3 separate regions of the Homo sapiens genome follow, and all the other regions are linked to region 3. The links are contacts of gene promoters, found by promoter capture Hi-C in blood cells and fetal thymus (Javierre and others, 2016). All regions are on one chromosome and are shown on one strand. Each heading gives the region's core, a stretch centred on a gene start or on the middle of the fragment in contact. The rest is flanking DNA. Distances are from core to core; before and after follow the strand shown.

Region 1 (4,639 bases), core at 247-2,746, 1.1 Mb before region 3:
CCTCGGGGCCTGATCACCGGCTCTGCCTCCCTCGGGGTGCTGGAGATTACTGGGGCAATAGAAGGGGAGGGAAGATGAGACTGCAATCTCAGTCCCCTGCCCGGTCCTGCCCCAACCTCGCCAGGGGCTGCCCCATGTTCAGCTCTTCCACAGCTCAGGGGAGCCCAGATTCCTGCACAGGAGCCTCCTCCGCGGAAGGAGGAAGGAAGCAGTTAGGCTCCTAAGGGCCCTTCTGTGCCTGCTCACAAGCTCCAGACACATCCTTCTAAATTCCCTAGAGCGCACTCTCTCTTCTCAGGGAACACAAAGGTCACTCATTCCCAGTGTCAGACTGTGCACAGGGAAGACCCCAGGATATGAGAAAGGGCCATTTCCTTCCGCCGGGATGGGGACGCCCGTGCACCCCTGTTGTGGCGTGGTTTGGGAGCACAGCAAAGGCCAGACTCTACCCTGGAGACTGCAGAGCTGGGGATGAGGCTTTTTCCAGCTCCTCTTGGGGATGTTCCTGGGGATACTTCCGCGGCTGCAGCGCCTGCTTCGGCCCACACTCCGGTAGCCCCCAGGTGTTAGAGAAAACTGCAGTAATAAAGACACCCCTATCCCCATGGCAGAGCTCAGACCTCTGACTGCAGAGAGGCCAGCCTTACCTGTGGGGAGGGAAGAGAAAACAGAAGTGAGGCTCTGAGCTCCTCTAGGGCAGTCAGCTTTGTGTCCTCACCAGCCACAACCCCTCCCCCCACAAAGCCACACGCACCAGCCATAAGCCCCACATCCTGCCTGGCAGAGTGACCTTAATGGACATTGGATTAATAAATGAATGTGCCCCTTCAACAAGGAAGCACACTGCTGTCTTTCGGGGTCACTTTCTTCCCTGGTAAGGTCACGGAACGAATTCTCCATTCTGTGGCCAGAGTCTGGGCTTTCCCTGATGGCCAAAGGCCGGCCTATGGCAGGAACTCTGGAATCCCTGCTGGCTCCCCTTCCCCCAGCCTCCTCCCGACAGGAATTCCAGGCCTATTTCCCATGGGGCTGCGCAGGGCCAGCTGGTGTGACCACGACTCCGTCAGAATCCCCTTCCGCATCGCGGCTGGCCGCGGGTGGCAGAAGCCCCACACCGCCCTTTTGTACTGATGCGTGTCCTCCGTCCACGCTCCCGGGCACACGGGTCCCGTTCTTGCGAGTGAGCCATTTCGGGTCCCACGCACGGCGCAGCTCGCGGAGCCTGTGCGCAGGTGCGCTCCCCCACCCCCGCAGATCCAGCAGCGTCCCCCCCCGCGCACTCACACACGGTCGCGCACACTCACGGTCACGCGCCCCGCAGGTGGAGCGGCCCCCCGCGGGCCCGCGGTGGCCCCGCGCCCCTGCCCCGGCCGTACCTCTGCGGCGGGCTGTGCAGGGACGCGGCGCCCGTCCATGGAGCCCGAAGGCCGGCCTCCGCGGCCCACTCTCGCTCCCCGCCCCGCCGCGGCGACAGCGGCAGGTTCGAGTTCACAACTGCCAGGCCCGTCCCCAACCTCCCCCCGCCGGGTTCCCAGCGCCACGTGACTACAGGAGCTGCCGAGGGTCAGTCGCCGGCTCCCGCGGCCGCGGCCTGGGGGCGGGGAGGGACTGCCGGGGCCGGGGCGCGGGCGCCCCCGCCAAGAGCGGGCCGGGTCACTCAAGCCACTGCCGCGCCAGGGCGGCAGGCCTCGGAGGGTCGGACTCCGTTGCCATGGCGACCACCAGCCCGGGTTTCTCTGGGACTGGCCGGAGCTCAAGTTTCCCGACCCTTTGTCCCTGCGGAGCACGCGCGTCCCCGGGCGACCGCGTGGCTGGCCTATGGTCACCGGGGTGTTCGGCCTTAGCTGCCTTATGAGAGGCTGGGAGCCCGTCGGGAGACTTCAAAGAGGGCTCCGGCAAGCCCCCGGAGCGTCGTTGCCCGGGCCTTTCTCAGGCCGCGCACCCCGGCCGCAGTGCGGACGCTTGCGGCCGCGGCGGTCCCGGGACGGCGGTGGCGCACCTGGAAGGCCCTAGCTTCCGATTTGTTCCAAAGTGGAGCACAAAAAGGCCCGATCCTGCGAACTTTGAAAAGGCCTCTCTTCACTCTTTTCTAGAAATTAAGAAAGAGCAGAAGTTGCTGGGCTTCCTCTGGCTGCGGGCCAAGCGTGGGGCGACGGCCGAGGTGGCCGTTGGCGCACGTGGGGCATTTCGCTTGGAAAGGCTCAGCAGCCTGTGTGGCGTCTGCGGTGGCAGGTGCGAGCCTGTGCCCATGACTCACCCACTAGCAGGTGGCCCTGGCTTTCCAAACTAAACACTTCCTGGGGTTTCCAGGGTAGTACAATTTCATGTACTTTCATGCTTTTCAACACAGGCAATTTTTGAATTGTATAATTAGTCGTAAAAATACTTTTTAAATCTATTGCATAAATAGGAAATAGGGGAACATAAAACTCAGTTTTACCTCGTAGAGTCAATTACATTTAATATTTTGGTATGTTGCCTCCGGTGTTTTCTCTACGTATATCCATGGCATGTCTGGCATAATTGGAATAATGCCTTGCGAAGATGTATTCTGCCTTCTTCACTTAACACGATCTTGTGAATTTTCTTCCATTTTATTAGATATTCTTTTAAACATGATTATTTATGGCTGTATAAAAGGAATATATTTTTTAAATGTTTTCTAAATTATCTTCCAGGAAAACGTATTAGTTTTCCCTGAGAAATGCCCATTTTCCATATACTTGACAACACAGACTTTTTTAAAAAAAAAATTTAGTTTGAAATGGTTATTTCTCATCTTTTGTACTTGCATTTCTTAGAGTACTAGTTAGCTGGATTGTTTTTTCACATGGTTATTTTTTGCCAGTTTTATTTTCTCTTGTGAATTTGTTTATGTCCATTTGCCCACTTTTCTATTTGCCCATTTTAAAAGTTGGGGAGTTGGTTTATTGTTTGGGGGGCACTCATAAAGTACAGGTATTAAAGACTTGTCATGTTTGTTGCAGACGTGTTTCCTCGTACTTGTTAACTTTTTTTTTTTTTTTTTTTGAGACAGGGTTTCACTCTGTCACCAGAGCTGGAGTGCAGTAGCACTATCATGGCTCACTGAAGCCAGGACTTCCTGAGCTCAAGCAATCCTCCCACCTCGGCCTCTGAGTAGCTGGGACTACAGGATCACATCACCACATCCAGCTAATTATTTTATTTTAATGTTTTTCTTCTGTAGAGATGGGGTCTCACTGTGTTGCCCAGGCTGGTCTCAAACGATCCTCCCGCCCCAGCCTCCCAAAGTGTTGGGATTACAGATGTGAACCACTGCATCCGGCCTACCTTTTCAGTTGTTGATGTGAGAAAGTTTTGCTTTAGTCTATGTGCTGCTGAAGCGAGCATAAGAAAGTTTTGTTTTATTTTTATTTTATTATTTATTTATTTATTTATTTATTTATTTATTTATTTATTTTGAGATGGAGTCTGGCTTGTCTCCCAGGCTGGAGTGTAGAGGGAGGTGTGATCTCGGTTCACTGCAAGCTCCGTCTCATAGGTTCTCGCCATTCTCCTGCCTCAGCCTCCCGAGCAGCTGGGACTACAAGTGCCCGCCACCACGCCCAGCTATTTTTTTGTATTTTTAGTAGAGACGGGGTTTCACTGTGTTAGCCAGGATGGTCTCGATCCCCTGACCTCGTGATCTGCCCGCCTTGGCCTCCCAAAGTGCTGGGATTACAGGCATGAGCCACCGTGCCCGGCGAGAAAGTTTTGTTTTAATGTGCCAAAACTTAGCAGTCTTCCTTTATGGTTTCTGCCTTTAGAGTTATGTTTAGAGAGGCTACCCGCAACCTAAAACTACATTGAATGTCTGCAGTTTTATCACAGAAAATAAGTTTTGGTAGCTGGTAGTTTAAGTACTTCCCCTACACAAAGATTCTGGGTTTTTTTATTCTTCATAACTTCTTGGCTAGAATCACTTCATTTATTCTTCCAAACTGACATGGAGCCGGCACCCCTCTTACAGGCCTGCAGGAAGTGGGGAGGGGGCAAGCATGGAAATAAAGGAAAATCTTGAATTCCTTCAAGGGAAATTCCAGGCACCCAGCTAGCAACCTAATAAACAAGAAGGTAACTGTAGCTTAAAACAAGGAAGTTACAGTCACAAAATGTTTGGTTCCCTATAGAAACTAAAGATAACATCTTAATATATGTCCCTGAGTTGCTCTTCAGAAACCTGGGCCCCCCTCCCAAGTGGATGCCCTGGCCTGCAGACCTCAGACAAGAGGGAACTGAGGACTAAGCTCTGCTGTTCTTTGTTCTAAATTTCTTCCTGAGGATCCTGATGGAAGTTGGACCAGACCTGAACATTCCTTTCTGCTAACCCCAAGGTTTTAGGCAAAGCTTTGCTTCCTTAACTTATCACAAATCAGAGTCTTTGAATTCATGTATGACCTTTAAGGCTCCTCCTTCAAAATACCCTGCCCTTTGAGGCTAAACCAGTGCATAACCTCCATGTATCAATTCACGATTTTGCCCATAACTTCTCCTTTCCTGAAATTTACCCCTGCTTTTAAAAACACTTGCTTGTGGCCGGGCCCAGTGGCTCATGCTTGTAATCCCAGCACTTTGGGAGGCCGAGGTGGGCGGATCACAAAGTCAGGAGTTCAAGACC
Region 2 (4,212 bases), core at 1,234-3,733, 1.8 Mb before region 3:
AAAATAAGCTCCCTTACCACTTGGCCTGCAATGGTTTAAGTCAGCTAGGGGTCAGGAGGAAAGCATCAGATTAAACTAATTTCCAGTTACCTGCATATTAAAAAGAAACTAACACAACAGGTGGATGTTTAGGCAATGCCACACACGGACATGGGAGTTCTTACGGGGGTGTCTGTCTCCCCCCAGCCTTGGCTCTCCCAGGCTACACCTGCTTTCCAAGAAGCGTACCTCGTTCCCTCCACTTCTGGGCCAGGGACGCACTGACAGCTGGTAGGGGGCTCACAAGCACAAACGAGCGGTGTGGATGCTGGCGTGGCTCAAGCCTTCTCAAAGGCTTAAACGCTTGTGACGCCCATCTTTCGCAGAATGACGCACCAACTCCTGCGGTTTCTAGGAACACGGCAGGGTGGAAATAAATACTGGAGAAAGCATGAAATACTCCTTCACCAGGGTCCTGCCCACCTCACCCACCCATCTCCTACAACTCAACACCCGAGCTGCAGAGTCCAACTTGCCGTTCCGAGAGCCACACTATGTTCTCCTGCCTCCGTTATCTTCATCATCCTGTTTCCTCTATGTGGGAATCCTCCGGACCCCCAGGCCTGGCACACGTTTGAGGAAAGAAATAAATGATACAGGAAGATTGCCAGGTGGCATCATAGGGACAAGGACTGCTTCATCTGTGGGGTACCACTGCTGGGGAGAGCCAGAGCTGAGACCCTGGATGGAGCAGGGTACCAGGGGTTCCCACGAGGCCATGCAGCCTGAGATCAGGCTGGACAGGTCTTCCTGTTCTGGCTTCTGACCCGGAAGAAAGAAGTCGTGATGAGGTTTCCCAAGTCTCTGACCTTTGCCCTGCCCTGGTCTTCTGAAAATCTAGGTCTCCTTCTGGACTCCCAGTGCCTCTCTGGCACCTCCTACAGGCTGAGTCGTTCTCTCCAGGTGCACCAAGCCCAGACCTTCTGGCCCCTTCGCTCCCTGTCTCTCCTTTGATTGTCTGCTTTTCACTGTGCTAGATGCAACTGGGCCGCACAGTAGGAGCTAAATGAATGTATCTGGAACAAATGAAGCTTTCCCTGGCTACTAGCACCCACATGGTTATGCTCTTTTTCAGAATTGCTAGAACTCTTGCGAGCAAAGTCCTGCATAAGCAACCAGGCCCCCATGAGACACTCAGTCCCTAAACCAACGAATTGCCAGAGGGGCCTGGGCTGGCTCCAGATGCATGTCCCCGGCACCCATCCCAGACCCCCCCAGTCCTCATCTTTGAAGGGAACCTCAGCAGTGTGTGGTGCAGCAGGGCCCACGGCGGAATGCAGGGCCCGGCCAGGGAGTGCCCACCCAGGAACAGTAAGGAAAGCTCAAGAGAGCACCCTGGCACAAACATGGGGACCATCATGCCAGTCCTCCAGGATCAAGTCACAGGACGAACAGAAACAGACACAAACACTAAAACCCCAGGTGTGCCTAAGGGCTGAGGGCTGTGGGATGCCAGGGCGTATGCCGTTTTGTTTTGTTTTGTTTTTGTTTTTTTTTGAGACGGAGTCTTGCTCTGTTGCCCAGGCTGGAGTGCAGTGGTGCGATCTCAGCTCACTGCAAGCTCTGCCTCCCAGATTCACACCATTCTCCTGCCTCAGCCTCCCGAGTAGCTGGGACTACAGGTGCCCGCCACCACGCCCGGCTAATTTTTCGTATTTTTAGTAGAGACGGGGGTTTCACCATGTTAACCAGGATGGTCTCGATCTCCTGACCTCGTGATCCGCCCGCCTTGGTCTCCCAAAATGTTGGGATTACAGGCGTGAGCCACTGTACCCGGCCACATGCACCGTCTTACTCTCCCTCTGAGCTGCCACCCAACTGCAGTCACAGCTGTGGCCCCTTCTCTGTCTAGCTGAGGCTTGACCCAAACAAGAAACCCCCACATCTCTTTACCTTAGTCCCTTTAGGATGTCACCAAGCCCACAGCCCAGGGCAGGCAATCTGTGAACTGAATGAAAGTGAGTGGGGTAAGGGTGACAGTGAGAACGCTCTGCTGGCCAGGCCAGGCCGGCTGGAATGCTCGAAGTAACTGTTTAAAAAAAAAAAAAAAAAAAAAAAAAGCCCTAGTGGGAAAACGATGGAGAAACCTGAGTAAGTCACCCAGCTGACAAAGCCCAGCTCCGGCACACATAATAGTAGCCATATGGCACACACACCTAATAGTCAGGTCCACTTCCACTTCCAGGCGGGAGCCCCCCCCCCCCATCTGGGAACTGCCAGCAGGGATCCCAGGCCCTCCCCAAGCCCCTGCTCCTCCCCTGTGCCGGGCCCTCACCTGCACACAACGACTGGGACCAGCAGGTCCTGGAAAGATCCCGGGCTCCTTTGGGGCTCCTGGCTAGCTTGGTACAACATCCTGCGCTCCACGTGCCCAGTGTCCCCATTTGGACTGAGGCCCTCGTTCTCCTGCATCCCTCTTTCTAGGACTCAGCCAGGAAACCCAAGCTGTCAGGGAGCGCTCACTGCAGGTGAGTGCCAAGCCGGAAGCGGGCTCCTGTTGAAGGCCTATACTCTCCCTGGCTGTATCCGCTTGGCTCCCTCCCTTCTCTGAGCCTCAGTTTCCCCACTAGTGAGGTGAAGGTGGCTCAGAGGCTCTGCACATAGTGAGCCCTCCAGCTCTCCCTCCCAGCTGAAGGCTGTACTTCTTCCACTCCCTAAGGCCAAGTAATGGGCAGGTTTTCTCTTTCCTTGGCCTCTGGTGGGAAAGGAACTTTTCAAAATGGTCTCCCTCTCCTCAAATCCTGTCCTGAAACACAGGAAAGCCAAACATCCCCTGCTTCCTCCTGTCCTGGACACGGGGTCAGAAGTGACTGTGAGTGGCAGAGACTACAGGAGGCCCAAGTGCCCACTGCACTTCCTCAGAGCCAGATGGATCCTGACCGCAGGTCCCACGTCACCTTCAGAGCTGGGACAAACAAACCCTTCACCGAAGTCTAAACAGAGTGAGGGAGGCTTTGTTATACACTCGGAACTGCCGCCCCTTTCCACCGAGAGGCTTAGCCCCAGGAAACACAGGACCCGGCTCCCAGCTGACACTGTGTTTATGTAACAGCCTAGGTCTGTTCCGCCCTGGGGCTGGGGGTGGAGGGCTGGGTCTCAGTCCAGCCTCAGACTGTGCTCGGAAACGCCCAGGGAGTCTGCGCCTCTCCCTCCTCGCAGAAAGAAGGTGGGGACACCGCTTCGCAGGACAGAAGCAATATGGTTTGGCAGATGGAGAGGAGTTCTATCGCAGGAAGGATATAGGGCAGAAACTGGAGAAGGAGTGGTTTTTTTTTTCTTTTGAAGACTGCCTACAGCAGAAAAGTGGGAACGCAAGACGGGTGAGGTGGATAAAGATGACGGTGCCAGGAGAGGCTGGGCAGGGGGGAGGGAGGGACAGCAGGGCAGCAGGGCAGCAGGGCCCAGGAGTGGGAACAGCAGGGCTGAGAACGGATGTGTGAGCCGCGGCTGGGTCGGTCTGGTGACAGTGAGACACCGGCTCCCGGGATTTCACGAGGGTGAGGCCGAGCTTCCAGGCCTAGTAGACGGAACCATGGGGTATTTCCAAACCGCAATGGAGAAGTCGGTCAGGGGAGGGCTCTAGGAGGGGAAATTCTGCCTGTTGTGTTAAATTTAAGATCAGGCAAAAAAAACTCAAGGGCGCCCCAGGAATCAGCCTTCACATCACAAAAGATGCTCAACCAGAGGCTCCCCTGAGCTGGGGAGGAGGGGTCGCTGCTCATCAAGCTGGAGCCAGGGGAGCCCGGAAACCTCTCCCTGCTCTGGGAAAAGCTCGGAAGCAGATGTGCCCCCACCCTCCTGTGGCCGGCCCACGAGGCTTGTCGCCCTCCAGAAGGAGCTGGGGGAAGGTAAGCTTGGAGCAAATCAGGAATGTCTTTACTTCCTCCAAGGACAGTGAAGCTGCAGCAACGATGTCTCTCCCGCCTCCACCCTCTTCAGATCTAAGAGGAAAAATTGGTCATCTCCTGTCTTTGGGGCCCAGGGCTCGCACAAATGCCATCTCCTAGTCCCCAGCCACAGCGGTGATTCAGGCCATTTACTCAGATCCACGTTAATGAGTTTTTTCTGTCACCTAATTAGTTCACAGAGAACTCAGCCTTGAGAGGAAAGAAATAAGAACGGGTTGGGAAAAGGCAGAAGGAAGTCAGACTGGCATGTCACAACAAAAGATAG
Region 3 (4,066 bases), core at 640-3,139:
TGTCCCTTTTGGGGAGTTTTTTGGGATCTCAAGTGCTGCAAGAAGGGAGGAGCAGGTGGACAGGAGTGATCTGAAAGGTAGTGAAGCAGTGAGCCCCAGGCTAGGGGGAGTGGATGATGTCACCTTCTAGGGCCCCCTCTTCCCAGGGAACAGGACTATAAACCTGCAGAATCCTCAACGCTTTTTCTCTCCCTTGCACTCAGGGAACCCAAAAAGAAGCTCAGCACACTCACTAAGAGGAGGGAGAGGAAGTTATACTTTAATAAAAGTATCCAGAAAAATCAAGGTTTCAAAACCTTCACTGAGGTGTATTAATAATAGTAGGTATCATCTATTGAGCCTTTACAAGCGTTTTCCAGTATGTCAAAAATGGCCAAAGGATTATAATCTCCCAATTGGACATACTGCACTATATCAAACCAAGATTCTAAAATCTGCTAAACTGGCCTAACTTATATAGATGAAGATGCCAAAAAAACTGATGTGATTCTTCCTTCTCCAGGAGAAAAATTCTGTATAGGAATACTTATAGTGTATTCTTATGAATAAACTTATTCATATAGATATGTATCTGGACAGATAGATAGATAGATATAAATGAGACAGGCACCTGCGCCTGTAATCCCAGCTACTTGGGATTGGGAGGCTGAGGCAGGAGAATACCTTGAACCCGGGAGGCAGAGGCAGAGGTTGCAGTGAGATGAGATCCCGCCACTACACTCCACCCTGGGTGAGAGTGAGACTGTGTCTAAAAAAAAAATATATATATATATATATATACACACACACACACACACACACACACACACACACACACACGTATATATATATACTTTTTTAATTAAAAAATTTTAAAATGGCCGGGCGCGGTAGCTCTCGTCTGTAATCCCAGCACTTTGGGAGGCCGGGGCGGGCAGATCACGAGGTCAGGGGTTCGAGACCAGCCTGGCCAACATAGTGAAACCCAGTCTCTACCAAAAATAGAAAAATTAGCCAGGCGTGGTAGCAGGCGCCTGTAGTCCCAGCTACTTGGGAGGCTGAGGCAGGAGAATCCCTTGAAGCCGGGAGGCGGAGCTTGCAGTGAGCCGAGATCGTGCCACTGCACTCCATCCAGCATGCGCAACAGAGCGAGACTCCCTCTCAAAAAAAAAAATTAAATAAAATCTGCTACAGTAATCTTTTTTAAAAAAATCTACTATCTCTCTTGTAAACGACACAATCTTTCTCTTTGGCAAAAGTAGAATATGAGGCGTTTTAAAGTGTCTAATTCCAAAATCCCTGCCCCGGCGTGAGGCTCCCGCCTCTAATAGATGCGTGACCCTGGGCCTGTCCCTTCCCATCTCAGCCTCCGCTACTGTCCCGTGGGGCTGGCGGCCCCTGCCCGCCCAGCCTGCTGTAGGGGGGGCCGCGAGGCCTCAAATGGGACAATACTCCTAAGGCGCGGCCTCCTCGTCGCCGAGCGTGACTCTGGGGCCCGGCCTGGCTGAGGCCGCAGATGGGCCGGATCGTCAGCCGCTGACGTCGGGGCCCCGCCCGCCGGGCCTGGCATTTGGGCCGCCCGGTCAATGCCTTCGACGCGGGCTGGGCGATGGGCCGGGGGCAACGAGCGCGGAGGCTGCGCGCAAGGCCCTCTCACCCCGCGGCCTCGCGCGGCCAGAGTCCCTCGCGCGGGCTCACGCGGCGGCGGCCTGGGCCTTCCGGGCGTCCGCGGGGCCGAGGGCGCTTACCCGGGCAGGCGCCGCTTCGGCCATGGCTGCCCGCGTCCCTCGCTGGGTTGCAGTCCCTGGACCCGGCCTGTCGGGCCCGGGGCGGCGCGGCAGCGACGGCGGAAGCGGAGCGGGACCCGCCTAACCTGAGAGCTACTGCCGGGCGGCAGCGAACTGCGTCCCGAGCCACGTGCCCCGCTGGCCCTTTAAAAAAGAGCTGCGCTCGGCGGCCGAGCTTGAGGACGCGCACAGCGCCCCCTGCAGCCCGTAGGACCGCACGCCCGCGGCCGCCGCCCCGCGCCCTCCCGAGGCCTTCAGCGCCCGCGGCGTCCGGGACCCAGGCGCGGCCACCCACCCTCACCCGGGGCGCGGGAGTTGACGCCAGGGCGGGCGTGCCACGGCCTCCAGCGGGGCTACGTCAGGCGTAAGCCACTCCCGGGCCAGCGCGGCGCCCAACCTCTCTCTGCGTCCCACGCGGGAGCCGGGAGGGCTGCGGGAAGGAACCGCGCTGGAAAGTGCGAAACCTCGCGAGGGAAAGCTGCGTGGGGAACGGGGTCGGCCCTCGCCGGGGCTCCAGTCCGGACCGAGACTCTGTTGCAGCGCCTCCCACGCACCACAGAACTGAGTTGGGGAAAGTAAAAAGGATACGTGTGTACCCAGGGAGAAGCCAGGGAAACTTACATGAACGTTTTTAAAGTCTCTTTTAAATTTGACAGAACAAACGTGAAGATGGTAGGATTTTTTTTTTTTTTTTCCTAAGCCTGCCCTCCCCTCCTGAGGACTCTGGGGTCCCTTCCTCCTCCCGGGGCCCGCCTGGTGAAAGTCCTCAGCCACCCACGAGGACCCTTCTGTAGCTTTGGTCCAGGCTGAGATCACAGCAAGTGTGAATCAGTCCATCCCTCATTTAGGCCCTGAGGCATCTTGAATAAACCGCAGGACCCATTTTCCTCGGCCTGTGCTGAGGCATATTGAACTAAATGTGCTGTATGCAGTTGAAGCTTTGTTTTCTGTCTTTTCTGCATTTCCCATTCATCTCACAGTCTTTGTCCAACAAGCTGGCAAACTCTTCCCGCTAGAAATCTGCAGTTTTGTTTCTTTCTGTGTTTGGGTTTGTTTGGGGTTTTTTGGTTTTGGTTTTGTTTTTTCTTTTTTGGGGGGGGGGGGTGAGGGTGAGAAGTTATTTTCACAAATATTTGAGCCAAGCAAAAGCGTGGTCAACTATCAGAAAAAACACAAACTGATATCCTAAGTAAGGTGAACCCCAAAATTTGCGGAAAGGTTAGGACGTGTTACTTTAAGGTAACAAATCAAATAAATATTTGGCATTATTCATTTTGGAAATTCTTGTTGAACTATCCCAATCTAAAACACAAACTGCAAGTATGCACTAAAGACATTAAGAGCATCCCTAGGATCTTATCAGGGATCAGTCCAATCTATTCAGGATTATAAAATACCAGTAAATGGTGACGTTATAGAATAACAGTTAAGGTCCAATGCAAACAGAAAGGGTCAGGAAAATGGGCCAGGAGCCGTGGCTCATGCCTGTAATCCCAGCAGTTTGGGAGGCTGAGGCGGATGGATCACCTGAGGTCAGGAGTTCGAGACCAGCCTGGCCAACATGATGAAACCCCATCTCTACTAATACAAAAAATTAGCTGGGTGTGGTGGTGAGGTACTCTGGAGGCTGAGGCAGGATAATCGCTTGAACCCGGGAAGCAGAGGTTGCAGTAAGCCGAGATCATGCCATTGCACTCCAGCCTGGGCAACAAGAGCAAAACCCCATCTCAAAAAAAAAAAAAAAGAAAAAGAAAGAAAGAAAGGGTCAGGAAAATGGGCTGGAGACAAAAATGCTAGGATTTAATGAGCTCTGTTGAGGAAAGAGTGCTATAATGTTTGACAGCTAGTCTTCGTTTTTTAGAAAAAAAGTTTCTCTAAGTCAGTGGTACTCAAACTTCAGTGTGCATCATGTTCACTGAGGGTTCTTGTTAAAAATACAGGATGCTAGGCACAAACCTCAACATTTCTAGGTCTGAAACAGGAGGGGATGAAAGTGATGCGAATTTGCAATTCTAACTAGTTCCCAAGAAATGCTGATTCTATTGGTCTGGTGATCACAGTTCGAAAACCTTGGCACTGTTTATCAGGGTCCCACAGCTACCTCCCATTCCCATGCTCAGATTTTATAAATATATTTAATAAACGAACACTTTGCACCATAATGTGGTTTCTGAGCAGACCAGCCGGGGTGTCAAGCCAGCTCTGATATAAATTAAAATTACATGGTGGCTTTTTTTTTTTAAGACGGAGTTTCGCTCTTGTTGCCCAAGATGAAGTGCAATGGCACGATCTCGGCTCAC

Evidence for each region. Contacts are between HindIII fragments. The CHiCAGO score rates a contact against its expected background, and 5 or more counts as called.
Region 1: a contact is called between the fragment with the promoter of REPIN1 here and the fragment with the promoter of ZNF783 in region 3, in 2 of 17 cell types (total B cells and erythroblasts). The highest score is 10.0, in total B cells.
Region 2: a fragment that was not itself captured here is called in contact with the fragment with the promoter of ZNF783 in region 3 in 1 of 17 cell types (naive CD8 T cells); the score reaches 5.6 in naive CD8 T cells.

What each region holds. Positions count from the first base shown.
Region 1 is chr7:150,365,679-150,370,317 of GRCh38, reverse strand. REPIN1 (replication initiator 1) reads right to left here and starts at 1,496. Exons shown (of 3, transcript NM_001099695.2): 1 at 1,377-1,496; 2 at 450-647. The coding sequence starts at 606. The region is part of intron 3 of REPIN1-AS1 (REPIN1 antisense RNA 1); the gene reads left to right. RefSeq lists enhancers at 1-312, 313-1,118, 1,119-1,923, 1,963-2,022 and silencers at 583-732, 1,243-1,712. The HindIII fragment of the contact is 10,402 bases long and covers 1-4,370 here.
Region 2 is chr7:151,088,268-151,092,479 of GRCh38, reverse strand. The region is part of intron 1 of AGAP3 (ArfGAP with GTPase domain, ankyrin repeat and PH domain 3); the gene reads right to left. LOC124901778 (a long non-coding RNA gene) reads right to left here and starts at 3,477. Exons shown (of 2, transcript XR_007060595.1): 1 at 2,315-3,477. RefSeq lists enhancers at 795-1,300, 1,301-1,806, 1,932-2,441, 2,442-2,952. The HindIII fragment of the contact is 2,822 bases long and covers 1,073-3,894 here.
Region 3 is chr7:149,260,019-149,264,084 of GRCh38, reverse strand. It overlaps ZNF783 (zinc finger protein 783), which reads right to left and starts at 1,889. Exons shown (of 6, transcript NM_001195220.2): 1 at 1,728-1,889. The coding sequence starts at 1,751. LOC124901769 (a long non-coding RNA gene) reads left to right here and starts at 1,744. Exons shown (of 2, transcript XR_007060582.1): 1 at 1,744-2,438. RefSeq lists a silencer at 1,422-2,291. The HindIII fragment of the contact is 3,928 bases long and covers 1-2,706 here.